2 separate regions of the Homo sapiens genome follow, and region 1 is linked to region 2. The links are contacts of gene promoters, found by promoter capture Hi-C in blood cells and fetal thymus (Javierre and others, 2016). All regions are on one chromosome and are shown on one strand. Each heading gives the region's core, a stretch centred on a gene start or on the middle of the fragment in contact. The rest is flanking DNA. Distances are from core to core; before and after follow the strand shown.

Evidence for each region. Contacts are between HindIII fragments. The CHiCAGO score rates a contact against its expected background, and 5 or more counts as called.
Region 1: a fragment that was not itself captured here is called in contact with the fragment with the promoter of HSPB6 in region 2 in 1 of 17 cell types (neutrophils); the score reaches 5.0 in neutrophils.

The regions. Positions count from the first base shown.
Region 1 is chr19:35,548,405-35,555,709 of GRCh38, reverse strand. ATP4A (ATPase H+/K+ transporting subunit alpha) reads left to right here. Exons shown (of 22, transcript NM_000704.3): 13 at 1-34; 14 at 120-270; 15 at 376-544; 16 at 634-788; 17 at 1,881-2,004; 18 at 2,528-2,673; 19 at 4,130-4,263; 20 at 4,599-4,700; 21 at 4,785-4,876; 22 at 5,067-5,679. The coding sequence ends at 5,095. Among named protein-coding and RNA genes, the nearest start is that of TMEM147-AS1, 6.0 kb to the right of the region's middle. The HindIII fragment of the contact is 2,360 bases long and covers 4,854-7,213 here.
Region 2 is chr19:35,754,442-35,761,435 of GRCh38, reverse strand. It overlaps HSPB6 (heat shock protein family B (small) member 6), which reads left to right and starts at 4,407. Exons shown (of 3, transcript NM_144617.3): 1 at 4,407-4,625; 2 at 5,542-5,664; 3 at 5,753-6,870. The coding sequence starts at 4,428. The coding sequence ends at 5,914. It overlaps PROSER3 (proline and serine rich 3), which reads right to left and starts at 3,260. Exons shown (of 11, transcript NM_001367856.1): 1 at 3,210-3,260; 2 at 1,966-2,062; 3 at 1,445-1,647. The coding sequence starts at 3,220. It overlaps LIN37 (lin-37 DREAM MuvB core complex component), which reads right to left. Exons shown (of 9, transcript NM_019104.3): 9 at 6,917-6,994. The coding sequence ends at 6,962. RefSeq lists enhancers at 2,916-2,975, 3,016-3,255, 3,584-4,155. The HindIII fragment of the contact is 14,255 bases long and covers 1-6,994 here.

The DNA.
Region 1 (7,305 bases), core at 4,784-7,283, 210 kb after region 2:
GCCTCCGTGTGCCCGTAGACCAGGTTAATCGCAAGTAAGCCCCCCCAGACCTCCCCGGGGTTCTCCCCACATCTGGCACAGACCGAGGTCCCAGCGAGGTCCTCCCATCTCCTCCCCAGGGATGCCCGTGCCTGTGTGATCAATGGCATGCAGCTGAAGGACATGGACCCATCGGAACTGGTCGAGGCCCTGCGCACCCACCCCGAGATGGTGTTTGCGCGCACCAGCCCCCAGCAGAAGCTGGTGATCGTGGAGAGCTGCCAGCGGCTGGTGAGCCCTGCTGATGAGGGTGGGCAGGCGGGCAGACAGGCGGGGCTGGTCTTGGACCGGCCTCTCACTGACCACCCACCCACCACCTGCACCCACTGCCTGCAGGGTGCGATTGTGGCCGTCACGGGGGATGGTGTGAATGACTCCCCAGCTCTGAAGAAGGCAGACATCGGAGTAGCCATGGGCATCGCTGGCTCAGATGCTGCCAAAAATGCAGCTGACATGATCCTGCTGGATGACAACTTTGCCTCCATTGTGACAGGCGTGGAGCAGGGTCCGAGCCACGCCAGGGGGAGGGCAGGCAGTGTGGGCACAGGAGGGAGAGGGCTGTGAGGAGGCTGAGGTGCCCACCCTACCCCACAGGTCGACTGATCTTCGACAACCTGAAGAAGTCTATTGCCTACACATTGACCAAGAACATCCCAGAGCTGACACCCTACCTCATCTACATCACCGTCAGCGTGCCCCTGCCCCTCGGGTGCATCACCATCCTCTTCATCGAACTCTGCACTGACATTGTAAGTCCACAGCCCAGGGTACCCATCCACAGGGTGCCCAGAGACACTTGCTTGCAGATGGACAGGAGGGACAGAGACCACCACAGACACTCTTGGGCACAGAGTGACAGACAAGACCTGTGTGTGCAATGACAGCCAGTGCAGGACACATGGGTGGCAGGCAGGTGAACAGACCTAAATGGACATACAGCCATGCACACACAGGCGGACACTCAGGTAGGCCCGGGCCGACCCATGCACACACATGACTCAGATACAGATACTCAGACAGAGATGGAAACAGAACAGGTATCTGGCCAAACTTGAATCACAGACACGTGCCCCTAAACAGACACGGACAAATAAACCCCCTCAGATAGACCCCATGGCAGACAGACAGAAAAGAACCACAGATACAGTCACGAATGCAGCCAGAGGCGCAGCTGTGTTGACAGGTATTTATTCGGTAACATTTACACAGTGCTTTCTCTGGGCCAGACACACCATCATTTCCTTAATTTTGTACTCATAACCACACTATGAGATGAGTTTTGTTACTATCACCCGTACTTTACTGATGAGCTCATCAAGGCATAGACAGGTAGAGTGGATTGTCCCAGGTCACTGGGCAAATAAGTGGCCCGGCTGTGACTTGAGCTTGAGCAGTCACAGGTCCCACAGCCTGTGGTCGTGGTCAGTATGCTCTGCTGCCACTCTAGGCACAAGCAGATGAAGGGGCACGGCGACACTGAGAGACTGAAGATACACAGAGATAGGGAGTGACACAGAAATACACAAGAGCAGATACAGTCACAGAGAATTACACTGGAGACAGGGACAGAGAAACAGAGTGAGGAACAGAGAAAGAGAGGGAGGGAGACAGAGGGAGAAGATAAAAGCAGATGTTCTTACGAAGATGGGCACCAGGATGCCAACACCCAGGGGCCAGTGGGGCCCAGGCTGTCCAGGCTGGTGTGGCTGTGCCGTCCCTGCAGGTCCTGCCTGCTAACCTCAGTCCTGTTCCTGCTCACAAGTGGGGGAAGGGGGACCCGAAGTGGAGGGGACAAGGGCCCAGCCAAACCCTCAGTCCCAGTTCCTTCCACTCCTGGCCAGTTCCCATCTGTGTCCCTGGCATATGAAAAGGCCGAGAGTGACATCATGCACCTGCGTCCACGCAACCCAAAGCGTGACAGATTGGTCAACGAGCCCCTGGCTGCCTACTCCTACTTCCAGATTGGTGGGTGCCCGTGGGCCGGGGAGCCTGGAGGTGGGGGGCTCTGCGCTGGGCTGCTCGCCTGCCCCAGGCCCTGCCTTGGGCTCCGGCTGGTTCTGGACCTCAGTGTCTGCATTTGGTCCTGGGTCTCCGTTGTCCTCCGTGTCCCTCTCTGTTTGTGACAGTCTCTCTGGTTCTGCTGTGTCCCTGCTCTCTCTCTGACCTTGCTCTCCATGACCCTGTCTCTGAGTTGTTGCCTATTTCTGTCTTTTTGGGTCCTGGATGTGTCTTTTTCTCTCTGTCCCTGCCTCTGTCTCTCTGTCCCTGCTTCTCTCTCTGCCTCTGTGTCTCTGTCACTGTTTCTGTGTCCCTGGCTCTGTGTGTCCTTGACCTTGTGTATCTGTGTCCCTGTCTCTCTTCCCGTGTCCCTGTCTGTGTGTCCTTGACCTTTGTGTATCTGTGTCCCTGTCTCTCCATGTCCCTCTCTTCCTGTGTCCCTGTCTCTGTGTCCATCTCTGTCTCCCTGTGTCCCCTTGTCTCTCTCCAGGTGCCATTCAGTCCTTTGCTGGCTTCACTGACTACTTCACGGCAATGGCCCAGGAGGGCTGGTTCCCACTGCTGTGCGTGGGGCTGCGGGCGCAGTGGGAGGACCACCACCTACAAGATCTGCAGGACAGCTACGGCCAGGAGTGGGTGAGCCCTGCCCCGCCCCATCCCATCCCTGGGCTCCCTCCTTCCCAGGGCAACTTGCCTTGTGTGCGGCCCACTTGTTCCTCCACGTGTGACTGAGTTCAGCCAGAGCATCCCGGACCCCCAGACTCCCTGCCAGTTCGGGGGGGCAAGGGCCTTTCCCACCATCTCCAGCTCCAAACTCCTGCTTCTGATGATCGCAACTGCAGATGGGTGTCTCTGCCCTGACACTAATGCATCATCTCAGATGTGGAACCAGGCCCCTATTCTGCTATTTTCCCTACAGCATCACTCCCACAGGGTATTTGCACATGTGGTCTATTTTAATGAAGGTTTGGAGCACAGTGAGGCTAGATCTGGCCAGCAGATGTGTTTAGTTCACCTGTAGAGTTACATACAGACGAGGATACTTCCCTTAAACATTTACTATCATGGTTAAGGTAGACACTGAAGCCAGACTGCCTGGACTTATGGTCTGGTACTGCTTCTCACAAGCTGTGTAACCCTGGGCAGGTTGCTTTGCCTCTCTGTGCCTGTTTTCTCACCTGCAAAGTGGAGAGAATATCAAAGTCTACCTCAGTGGTTTTCAGTTTGCTCCCAGACCAGCAGCATCACCATCTCCTGGGAACATGTTTGCAGTGCAAATTCTCAGGCTCTATCCCAGCCCTCTGGGAGCCCTTGCTGGGATTCTCATGCATGTTCAAGTTCCAGCACCACTGATTTACCTCCTAGGGTTACCCAGCGGATTAAATGAGCTAATGCACGTGCAACACTCGGCACCTGGAGCAGTCAGTGATCCCCACAGTTAGCTGGTATTAGGAGTTGTGTTGCCAGGCATGGTGGCACATGCTTGTAATTCCAGCTACTTGGGAGGCTAAGGCAGGAGAATCTCCTGAACCTGGGATTCGGAAGTTGCAGTGAGCTGAGATTGCACCACTGCACTCCAGCCTGGGTGACAGAGCGAGATTCCATCTCAAAAAAAAAAGTAGCTGTGTTGAAGAAATGGGCTGCATAGTGGCTGCCCCCTTTAAATGGGGCATCTGCCCTCTTTTCCCAAAGGCCCGCGGTGACTGCCTCACCTATTTTTGCCATCTGCCTGGCCCCTGGAGTCACTGGACTTTGCAAATCCCATCTGAGGATTTCAATTCCCCTTTCCCAGGCCCTTTCTTTTGGGTGCCTCCCCCCTTTCACTATGAAAGCAGTCGGCCCAGCCTACAGTTTTCCCGGCCACTGTCATCCAAGCTCTGCTAGGCTGAGGTTTCTGGGCCCCACGTTCTGGGGTCCTGCACACCTGGCAGACCCTGCCTCTCTCCTTCCCCCCACCCCCACACTCTGATGCAAGGCAGAGAGAGCATTTAGGGGTTCACGGCCCTGGGACCCTATGCCCGGTGGGCTGCAGAGGCTCTCCGCCGGGACTCAGGCTGGACTCAGGCTGTTTCCGTTTGCCCCTGGCCTGCAGACATTCGGGCAGCGCCTGTACCAGCAGTACACCTGCTACACCGTGTTCTTCATCAGCATTGAGGTGTGCCAGATCGCCGATGTCCTCATCCGCAAGACGCGCCGTCTCTCTGCCTTCCAGCAAGGCTTCTTCAGGTGTCCCTGGCTGGCCCTCTTCCTGCCCTCCAACCCCTGGTCCCAACTCCCATCAGATCCTGACTGTGGTTTAGAACAGCCGGCAAATGCCAGCGGGTGCCAGTGCCAGATGGTGACATGCCAAAAAAACCTTTCTAACTGGCCAATAACTCCCCCCACGGCCCCCTCCACATTTCACTAAAGGGGTGGTGCTGAGAGGCCCGGGCCACTCCAGTGTTCAGTGTGTAGAACACCTCCCTGCTGCTGCTGACATCTGACCTACTTTGACCCACAGTATCCTGATTTCCATCACGTCCCCAATTCCTAATGGCCTGTCCCATTCTGCCCACCCCCAGGAATAAGATCCTGGTGATCGCCATCGTGTTCCAGGTCTGCATCGGCTGCTTCCTGTGCTACTGCCCCGGCATGCCCAACATCTTCAACTTCATGCCCATTCGGTGAGAGGCTGTGAGGGGCAAGGACAGGGAGGGGGCTGTAGGGCACAGGCCTGGGATGGCCTTCACCTTGCCATGTGCCTTCAGGTTCCAGTGGTGGCTGGTCCCCCTGCCCTACGGCATCCTCATCTTCGTCTATGATGAGATCCGGAAGCTTGGAGTTCGCTGTTGCCCAGGGAGTGAGTGTGGAGACTGGGAGCCTGGGGGCAGGGGACTGAAACGTTTGAGCAGCTGCACCCACCTTTGATCCTCAACACTTGGCCTCTAAGCCCTTGACCCTCCATAGCAACCAGCACTGACCTCTGAGCCCCTGGCCCTGCCTAAGTGGCACCCCCAGCACTGAGTCTCCTTTCTCCCTCTCTCTCCCAGGCTGGTGGGACCAGGAACTCTACTATTAGAGGGACGACTGCCTTCAAGCATCCCTGCAACTGCCACAGCAGGTGGGGGCAGGGCTCGTGGGACCCTCTGGACAGCCACCAAGATATCTGAGCAACCAAGAGTCCCAGCCCCACCAGTATCTGCTTCTGTAGCCCACGGCACCCCAAACTTGGAGGGACCTGCCCACTCCCCTCCCCCATTCCCAAGGTTCGCACCTCCTGGAGCAGCAGCGCCTGGGCAGTCCTCTGGGCTGGCCTCGGGAAAGCCGCCACCTGTGGTGGCGGTGGGGCTCTGACAGGGAGTACAGCTGACCGCTTCTGGAGGGTGTTTCTGTTCTTAGGACTCCAGTCCAGGCTGGACGGCTGCCTGAGGGCCCTTCGTTAAAGACACGCTTGTGTCCTGGGCGATGGTAATAAAACCAGCTCATGCTGACTGTGCTGTATCTGGTGCCAGGCACTGTCCTCAGCGTCTCTCATTAGTGCTTGTGATCTCCCACAGTCCTGTACATGGGGGCTGTTTATCCAGGGCTGCACCTCCAGTGCCTAGTACACAGCCTGGCACATAGTAGGTCCTCAATAAACCTGCCTTGGGGAAATGATTCCTATTCCTTTGCCCAGGGTCATGGCATCTAAACGCAAGCTGGGCCGTGGCGATAGGCACCCCCTACCACCTCTGGGCTTTCTCTGTTCTCAGCACCCTTCTCCCTCCTGGAGGCTCCCAGACACAAGGGGGCCCAAGTCATTTCCACATCAAGCATCCCCCACCCCCCAGCGGTGTCTCCTTTCTGAGCCTACCTGCTTACTCCTCTGTCCCGGCAATGGCCAGTTCCTGAACAACTCCTGGAGGTCCCCTCCTCACACCCCTCACCTGAAAGGTTAACCCCATCCCCCTACCTCCCATCTCTGCCGCTCCTTTCCCAGCCCCTCTGTTCACCTCTCTTCCTCTTTCTTATGTGGCTTTCTCTGGCTAGGGCCTGGGCTTCTCCTTCCTTGTGACCACAGCCCCCCAGTCCCCCATGGCTTCAGTTGTTTCTGCAGTGAGACCCACCTCTGTCCCCAGCTTCCCCCAGTGTTGGTGACCTACACTGGCCTCTTCATCACCCCCCATGCCTGTACCCATGCACTGACCCAATCTGATAGTCCCACTGTCCCATCAGTGTGGTCCCTTCTCCCTTGGAAACGTGGTGAGCCCTCGGGCTTACAAGCCCCAAACTCCAGTTATCCTGGAACTCTTTGCTCCTCCCTTACCTGTTAGCGCCCCCTGCCGGTAAATAAATACACACAGCCACTGATCACCAACACCTGGGCTTGGCTTCTAGTCACTCTCCTAACCCCACAAAGCCCTGCCCTGGTCCAGCCCTGGCCTCGTGGCCTCAGCTTTCCCATTTCAGACAACAGCCATGCAGAGCTTCCTAAAGCCAAATCTGACCCTGTCCTTCCTCTGCCTAGAGCTCTCCTTGGTTCCCAAAGCCTCCTGTGATCTGACCCCTGCCAGCTTCTGTAGTCTTACAAGTCCCCTTGAACTCATTCCAACCAGTTATGTTCCCTTGGGAAAAACAGGCCCCCTCTCTGACCTCAAGACCATTACCTCTGCCTTGCCCCAATCACTCATTCTTTAGGTCTCAGCTCACATGTCCTCTGCTCAGGGGAGCCCGCACTGCTTCCACGGCAGGCCAGGCGGCTCCTCTGGGTCCCCATAACCCGGGGTTTTCCCATCATAACCCCGATCACCTGAAGCCTGGCTCCCCACAGTCCAACCGCCCAGGCTTCACCGTCCTCTGCCAACTCAGGCCCAGCCACTCCAGTCTCTCTCCCTGAACCCCATGTAAGCTGGGATTATTCCAGTTGGTAATTTTGCATCCTACACTTGTCTCAATATGTGTGAAGAGCTATGTGGGGCATGGAAGTGTGGGAGAAAGTGACCTTGTCACAAGTCCACCCAGATAGACTGCCCCATCTACTTCCTTTCTACATCAAAGTCAAGGTGATCAATCACTTCCAGCTCCCAAGAGACCCATGGACCCTGTCTTTACTCCAAACAATGAGGAAGAGTGGCCTAGATGGCAGCTGCCGTCTGAAGGCAAATGCTCCCTCTGGAAACATCGAGATGGTCATAGTGAGCTTTCCTAGGCCTAAGCTTAAAAAAAATCAGGTGGAACTTCAACGGCCTGGTGGAGGAGGAGGGGCAATGGTGCTATCCTACTCCCTGGGGTACCCCACTGGGAACACCA
Region 2 (6,994 bases), core at 3,158-5,657:
CCTCCCAAAGTGCTGGAATTACAGGCGTGAGCCACTGCAGCCCTGCCAATTTTTGTATTTTTAGTAGAAACGGGGTCTTGCCATGTTGCCCAGGCTGGTCAGGAACTCCTGGGCTTAAGGGATCCTGCCACTTTGGCTTCCCAAAGTGCTGGGATTACAGGAATGAGTCACTGTGCCCAGCCAGGAATGTAACTTTTAGCTGGGCACACAGCCAGTCTCCTATGGACTATATTTACCAGGTACCCTTGTAGCCTTGTGACCACGTGACTAAGTTCTTGACAAACAGGGTATGAAATGTGATTTTGGAAAGCTGATGTGGTTGAAAGCCATTTTGCACCATGAAGGAAAGGGCAACGGCCTAGAGTTCGGACAGCAACAAGACAGAAGTAACCTGTGTCCCTGACACCTCAACTACGGGTTGCCACATCATCCCTGGTGGCTTCTGCCTGGACTGCAGGTGAGGGAGGAATAAATTCTATCTTGTTTCAGCCATAATTAATTTGGGACTCTTTGTTACAGCAGCTGAACCTGTATTCTACAAATCTAAGTGGTGACTATGTGAGAAGCACTGCTAGAGATCATTATATATAGTAACTCACTGAAAGCTCAAAACAGCCCTAGGGGATGTGTACTATTAATATGCCCAATTTAGGCCTGGCAGTGGCTCACACCTGTAATCCCAGAACTTTGGGAGGCTGAGGCAGGTGGATCACCTGAGGTCAGGAGTTTGAGACCAGCCTGGCCAACATGGTGAAACCCCATCTCTACTAAAAATACACAAAATTAACCAGGTGTGGTGGTGGGCACCTGTAATCCCAGCTACTTGGGAGGCTGAGGCAGGAGAATCACTTGAACCCAGAAGGGAGAGGTTGCAGTAAGCCGAGATCATGCCACTGCATTCCAACTTGGGCAACAAGAGTGAAACTCCATCAAAAAAACAAAAACAAAAACAAAACAAAACAAAACACCCAATTTAGAGATAAATAAACTGAGGCTGGGCATGGTACGTCTGGCCTGTAATCACAGCACTTTTTGGAGGCCAAGGTGGGAGGTTTGCTGGGTGTGGTGGCATGCATCGTAATCCCAGCAACTCAGGAGGCTGAGGTGGGAGGACGGCTTGAGCCCAGGAGTTTGAGGTTATAGTGAGCTGTGATTGTACCACTGACCTCCAGCCTGAGTAACAGAGCGAGACCCTGTCTCTAAACAAATAAATAAATAAATAAAAAGAGATAAAGAAACTGAGGCCAAGATCATACAGAGAGTTAAATGACAGAGCTGGGATTTGAACTCAGGCAGTCTAGCACCAGAGTTCTTAACACACATAAACTGCCTGGTCCTAAAAGAGTGCTGCAGAAACAGCTCTGGCCATGATGATTATTACTGCATGCCTTCTCCCTCCCTCTAACCCAAAGCCTCTTTTTCCCCCAGGGCTGCTGGTACTTACTTGGCCACCACGGAGTCCCCGCTGTCAATCAGGGTGGGTGCTGGGGAGGCCCACATCTGTCCCTCAGTGGTGCTGGGCAGGGAGGGGGTCCCTGAACTGGATGGCCAGGACTCCTCAAACAGCTCAGGGGAGTTGGGACCTGTGGCTAGAGCCTTGGGAGCTTGTGGGAGCCTGGATCTCTGAGACCTGGATGGGCTCAGGGTCTAAGATCAGGGAAGAGCACAAGAAGAAAAAGTGTGAGGTCTCATGGGTCATCCCTGCAGGGGAACCAGGACACACACAAAGTCTCAGTCCAGAGGGGAGGAAACACATCCTGTAATGATAACAACCTAGTGTGATGGGGGCTCAGATGGGGAATCCAGGTGGTAGAGAGGGGGACAAGGGCAGGGCCGTGGGGAGGGGACAAGGGGCTGTCTCTTAAATCTCTCATCCCTATCTCTCATCACATGTCTTCCTACCCTCTAAAGGTCATTCTCTTGCTACTGGGCTGGCACTCAGCACTCTTTGAGGGGTGTCCTCACCTTGGGACACCAGGTCTGGCTCTGGGATGGCCAGTAGTGGCTTCGACCCAGGGGCGCATCTCCAAAGGGACTATCTTGAATGGAGAAAACTGGCAGGCTGCAAGAGGAAAGTGGGGTTCAGGCAGCACGTGGTTTCGCCGCAGCCCTGGGGAGGGGGACATTAGAGGAGGGCAGAACCAGACAATTCCCATAGATTCCTGGAGGAGACGGACTGTCATTTCCATGAAGCACCGTTGCACATTCAGGATATCGACAGTGGAAGGGTGAGTCCTGGGAGCCCGCCCCTGGAGCAGTCTTAACAGGGAGCAACTCAGGAACTGACAGCCGGTGGTTCTCAACCCTGGATCCAGTCTAGGAGGGGCTTTTCAACGTTACAGGCGCGCGGTTCCCATTCCAGACCAACAGAATCAGAATATCTATTAGTGGGGCTGGGCCTCCGTGTCTTTTCCGCAGCGTCCCAGGTGATTGCGAAGTGGAGTTCAGGTTAAGAATCGCGGCTCGCCGGGCGTGGTGGCTCACGCCTGTAATCCCAGCACTTTGGGATTACACCGAGGCGGGTGGATCACTTGAGGTCAGGTGTTCGAGACCAGCCTTACTAACATGGCGAAACCCCGTCTCTACTAAAAATATAAAAAATTAGCCAGGCGCGGTGGCAGGTGCCTGTAGTCCCAGCTACCTGGGAGGCTGAGGCATGAGAATTGCTTTAACCCGGGGGCAGAGGTTGCAGTAGCCAAGATTGTGCCACTGCACTCCAGTCTGGGCCAACAGAGCGAGAGACTCTGTCTTAAAAAAAAAGAAAGAAAGAAAGAACCGCGGCTGGATTATATCACCGAGCATTTCCCATACATTCCTGGGGGACACGAAGGCAAAGGGTAGATGGACTACAAGCCCCAGGATCCACTGGGCTCCGCCTCCGCGAGAAAGTTCAAAGACAACGCCCAGGCGTGTCTGGGGGCCATTTCAAAATGAAGAAATTCAGATCTCAAGCCTTTCTTGGACACCTTTAGAGGCAATAATTCCTTGGGGCCCACTCAGAGAGGAACATAAGACTCTTAGGGGACCCCCGGGATGCTAACGGCTACGGCTGGAGAGGCCAACGGCTGTGGAGCATGTTGGGAATTGTAGTTCCAGTGCGGTGGAGCCCTAGCGACTCCAGACCGTATCCAGCCCGTCCTAGGCTGTGCTGCTCTCGCCGTTGGTCCTCCCCAGCCTCCTGTAGTCCCTGGAAGAGCGATCGGCCTCACCTGCGGTCCATCCCGCGGCTCCCTCCGCGCTTCCGGCCGCTCTGCTCCTTCACCCAACAGGCCCCGCGCGCATCTCCGTCGCTTAGCAACGCCCTATCAGCCCCGCCCCTCTCTGTGCCCGCGCCGGAGGCGAGCGGCCTCCAAGGCGACCAATGAAAGAGAGGAAACAGAAGTACCCGGAGGGAGGTGTTTCAGGATTGGCTGGGACGACTGCCTGCCCGACAGGGCGTGTTTGATTGGAGAACCTGCCGAGTGTAGCAGTAATTGGCAAGACCGTGCACCAATGGGAAGGATCTGAGGCTGGGCTTGCGGTTAGGAGGTGATCTAAAGTACCCTCGCTTAAAAGTCCCGCTTTTTAAGCGCCTTCTTGCTGCAGAAGTCCTGTCCCGACCCCGGTCTAACTACCATTCTTTCTGTTGCAGGGGCAGTGGGGCGGGTTGGGGGGGGGGCGCGCTCTGCCCTCTCTCTAACCGCTATTCCTCCATCAGTTGGGCCAATCAGTCCGTCCCAACGGTCATCTAACTTCTTTCTTGCTGCAGGAGCAGCTGGTTGCATCAGTTGCCAGGTCTGGGCTCCTGGCCGAGGTAGCGGGATCAAAATGAGCTATTTCCAGCCCCAGCGCGCGGCCCCCGGGGGGCCAGCCTGAACTGTTCATGCTCGCGCCCCCTGGCCTCTGCGCACCAGAGGCTGAGTCAGAGGCACAGAATTAGGCCCGGCCTGCCGGGGGACTGGGCCCAAGGTCTGGCTGAGGATAAGGGTAGGGAGGGCCTGTTCTATGTCCTCCTGACATCCTGGCGGGGCTACCGCATTCTCCAGGAATCTGCTCCTAAAGACCTCCATCTGCGTCATCCTCAGAGCTGCCAGGGGGGAGGCAGTGGATTAAAGGGACTGGAAACTCTTCCGTGGGCCTCTTGGGTCCTGGGCCCCAATCACCACGCTGTGCTCCCCACACCCGCAAGGCTCCCCCTCCTCAGCCTTAGTTTCCTCTTCTGGAAATTGGGGAATCTTCATGTCACCTTCTTGACAGCATTTGCCAGGCATCCAGCAGGCGCTTAATAAATGGCCAAGTCATTGTTTGGGTTTCTAAATAAGGCTCTCCTAATGGCCGGGTCTGGCCACGGTCCCAGTGTCCCTGGGCAGCCCTCCGAGGGGCCGGCACAGGGCGCACTATAAATGAGCGGCTGCGCACGCAGGGGCACTGCAACGCGGAGGAGCAGGATGGAGATCCCTGTGCCTGTGCAGCCGTCTTGGCTGCGCCGCGCCTCGGCCCCGTTGCCCGGACTTTCGGCGCCCGGACGCCTCTTTGACCAGCGCTTCGGCGAGGGGCTGCTGGAGGCCGAGCTGGCTGCGCTCTGCCCCACCACGCTCGCCCCCTACTACCTGCGCGCACCCAGCGTGGCGCTGCCCGTCGCCCAGGTGCCAGGCCTGGGGAGGGGTGAACTCGACCACTTCCATTGCCAGGGGTCTGGGGCAGCCTGGGGTGGGAACATGTGAGAGAATGTTCGTTGGCCTTGGGCGGGGTGGAGAGTCCGCAGCTCCGAAGGGCTTCCGGAGTCAATGGGAATCTGAGGCCCGCACACTGCAGCGGGTGGGAGGTCCCCGTCGCTCTTAGGTGGGGGGCGGGGTGGGGGGCTCTCAGCTCTCCAGAGAATGGAAGGCCTGGGTCACTCTAAGGGGAGTCTTGCTTACTCTGAAGGAGGCTGGTGATCCGGGAAATCTGGGGAAAAGGAGGCGGGCAGTGACTCCTGAGGGGAAGGAATGTTCTTAGTCTCGGGGAAGAGTTGAGAGACTGTGTGCGGTGGCCCGATATCTCCAGAAGAGGAGGGGAGAGGGCCCTGCGACTTGAGGAAGGGTTCCCGGCCACTCTGAAGTGGGGGAAGGCTACCAGTAGCTGCCGAGGTCCCGTGACTCGAGTGGGAGAGTAGGCAGAGGACCCTGGAGACGGGGAAAGGGGCATCTTGGCGAGTTTGGCGGGGCTGGCGGAGAAGGGACCCGGGGCTCTGAGGAGGGAGCTGGGGAATCAGTGCCCTGGGGGGCACGATGACTTCGGATTCGCTGACACCGGGGGAGGGCAGAGGTTCCTGACCTTGCAGGGGAAGGGAGCCTCATCACTGCGGGGGAGAGGGCAATCCCAGATATTACAGGGGGAGGGCGTATCCCTGTTGTTCAGGGTGAAGAGGTCCTGGGTGACTCCCAGTAGGAGAGCTGACTGCTCAACTCCGGAGGCCAGAGTGAGCCGCGGCACGGAACCGACGGGGGTGGGGTCTCCCTGGGTGGGTCCTGGAGCCTGGCCCAGCCCAATGACAGTCCCGCCCGCGCCCGCTGCGCTCAGGTGCCGACGGACCCCGGCCACTTTTCGGTGCTGCTAGACGTGAAGCACTTCTCGCCGGAGGAAATTGCTGTCAAGGTGGTGGGCGAACACGTGGAGGTGCACGCGCGCCACGAGGAGCGCCCGGTGAGCCGCGGCGTGGGGCGGGGCTGGAGCGGGTACGCTCGCCGCCGGGCCGGAGGGGCGGGGCCGCTCAAGCCTCCCTCCCCTCCAGGATGAGCACGGATTCGTCGCGCGCGAGTTCCACCGTCGCTACCGCCTGCCGCCTGGCGTGGATCCGGCTGCCGTGACGTCCGCGCTGTCCCCCGAGGGCGTCCTGTCCATCCAGGCCGCACCAGCGTCGGCCCAGGCCCCACCGCCAGCCGCAGCCAAGTAGGAGGGGGCTGGGCCGCGCCCGCACCCCGGGAGCCTCCTCAGGCTCCCTCTATTAAAGCCGATCTGACTCCGCCCAGCCAGATGTCCCGAGTGCGCCAAGGACTGTCCTCTCACCCACTCCTGGATTCTGCCCTGACCTCCATCCTGGACACTGCCTTGATAACATAGACCCTTCCACTGACACCCTCGCTCTCACACCCCCTCCAGCTTTCCGACCCCACACCGACAACTCCCCGGCTTCCAGACCCTACCAGCACTACCCTAACCCTCAGCCGACAGTCTCAGCCCCACCGACCCACTTTCTTGGCATATAGCCCCACTTAAGACCCCTCCTCTACTTCCTTCTGAGTCCTCTACAAAGACATCCGGGTACTACATTTCCATCCCTTCCCTATTTTGACACCAAATTATGGTGTAGACAGCCCTCCCCCAACCCCAGGCCAGTCAGGCACAATCCCCCCACCCCCCAAACGTCCTGGACTGCACAGACCTCCCACTCCAGACCATCCAGGCCTGGTTCCCAAGACCCGATCCTTCCCCTGCAACCAGACAGTCTACAACTGCCCCCTCCAGCCCATTTTCTGCCGTGAAACCCCAGCCAGCCACACCAGACTCTGGAACCCTTTTTCGACTGCCCCAACTCTTGGACACCAGGCCAACTAGAACACCCAACACCAAACTGTACAGACTCTCCCACCCCAACCTCCCCAGACTCTGCACGGATGTCCTAGGCCCCCTCCCCAACTCTAACCAGACCCCATCCCCCTAAGTCCCTTTGTCTTGACCCCCAAGTCTTCAACCAGATATCCTCGGCAACCCACCTCCCACCCTCCTCCTCTTCTCCTTCAAGACCCAACTGAGCACCCGCTCTGATTCCCCACAGCCTTTCTCCCTGCCACCACTCCCTTAGTCTTTCCCAGGCTTACTCTCCCAATAAATGTGCTAGAGCTCTGCCAACTGCTTTGTGCCTGGGCCAGGAAGGAGGGACCGGAGCAGACACCAGTGTGGAGCTGGGGGATGTTTACTGGTGTGGGGGGACCTGGGAACATCACTGTCGTTCGTACATCTCTCGTAGGATCTT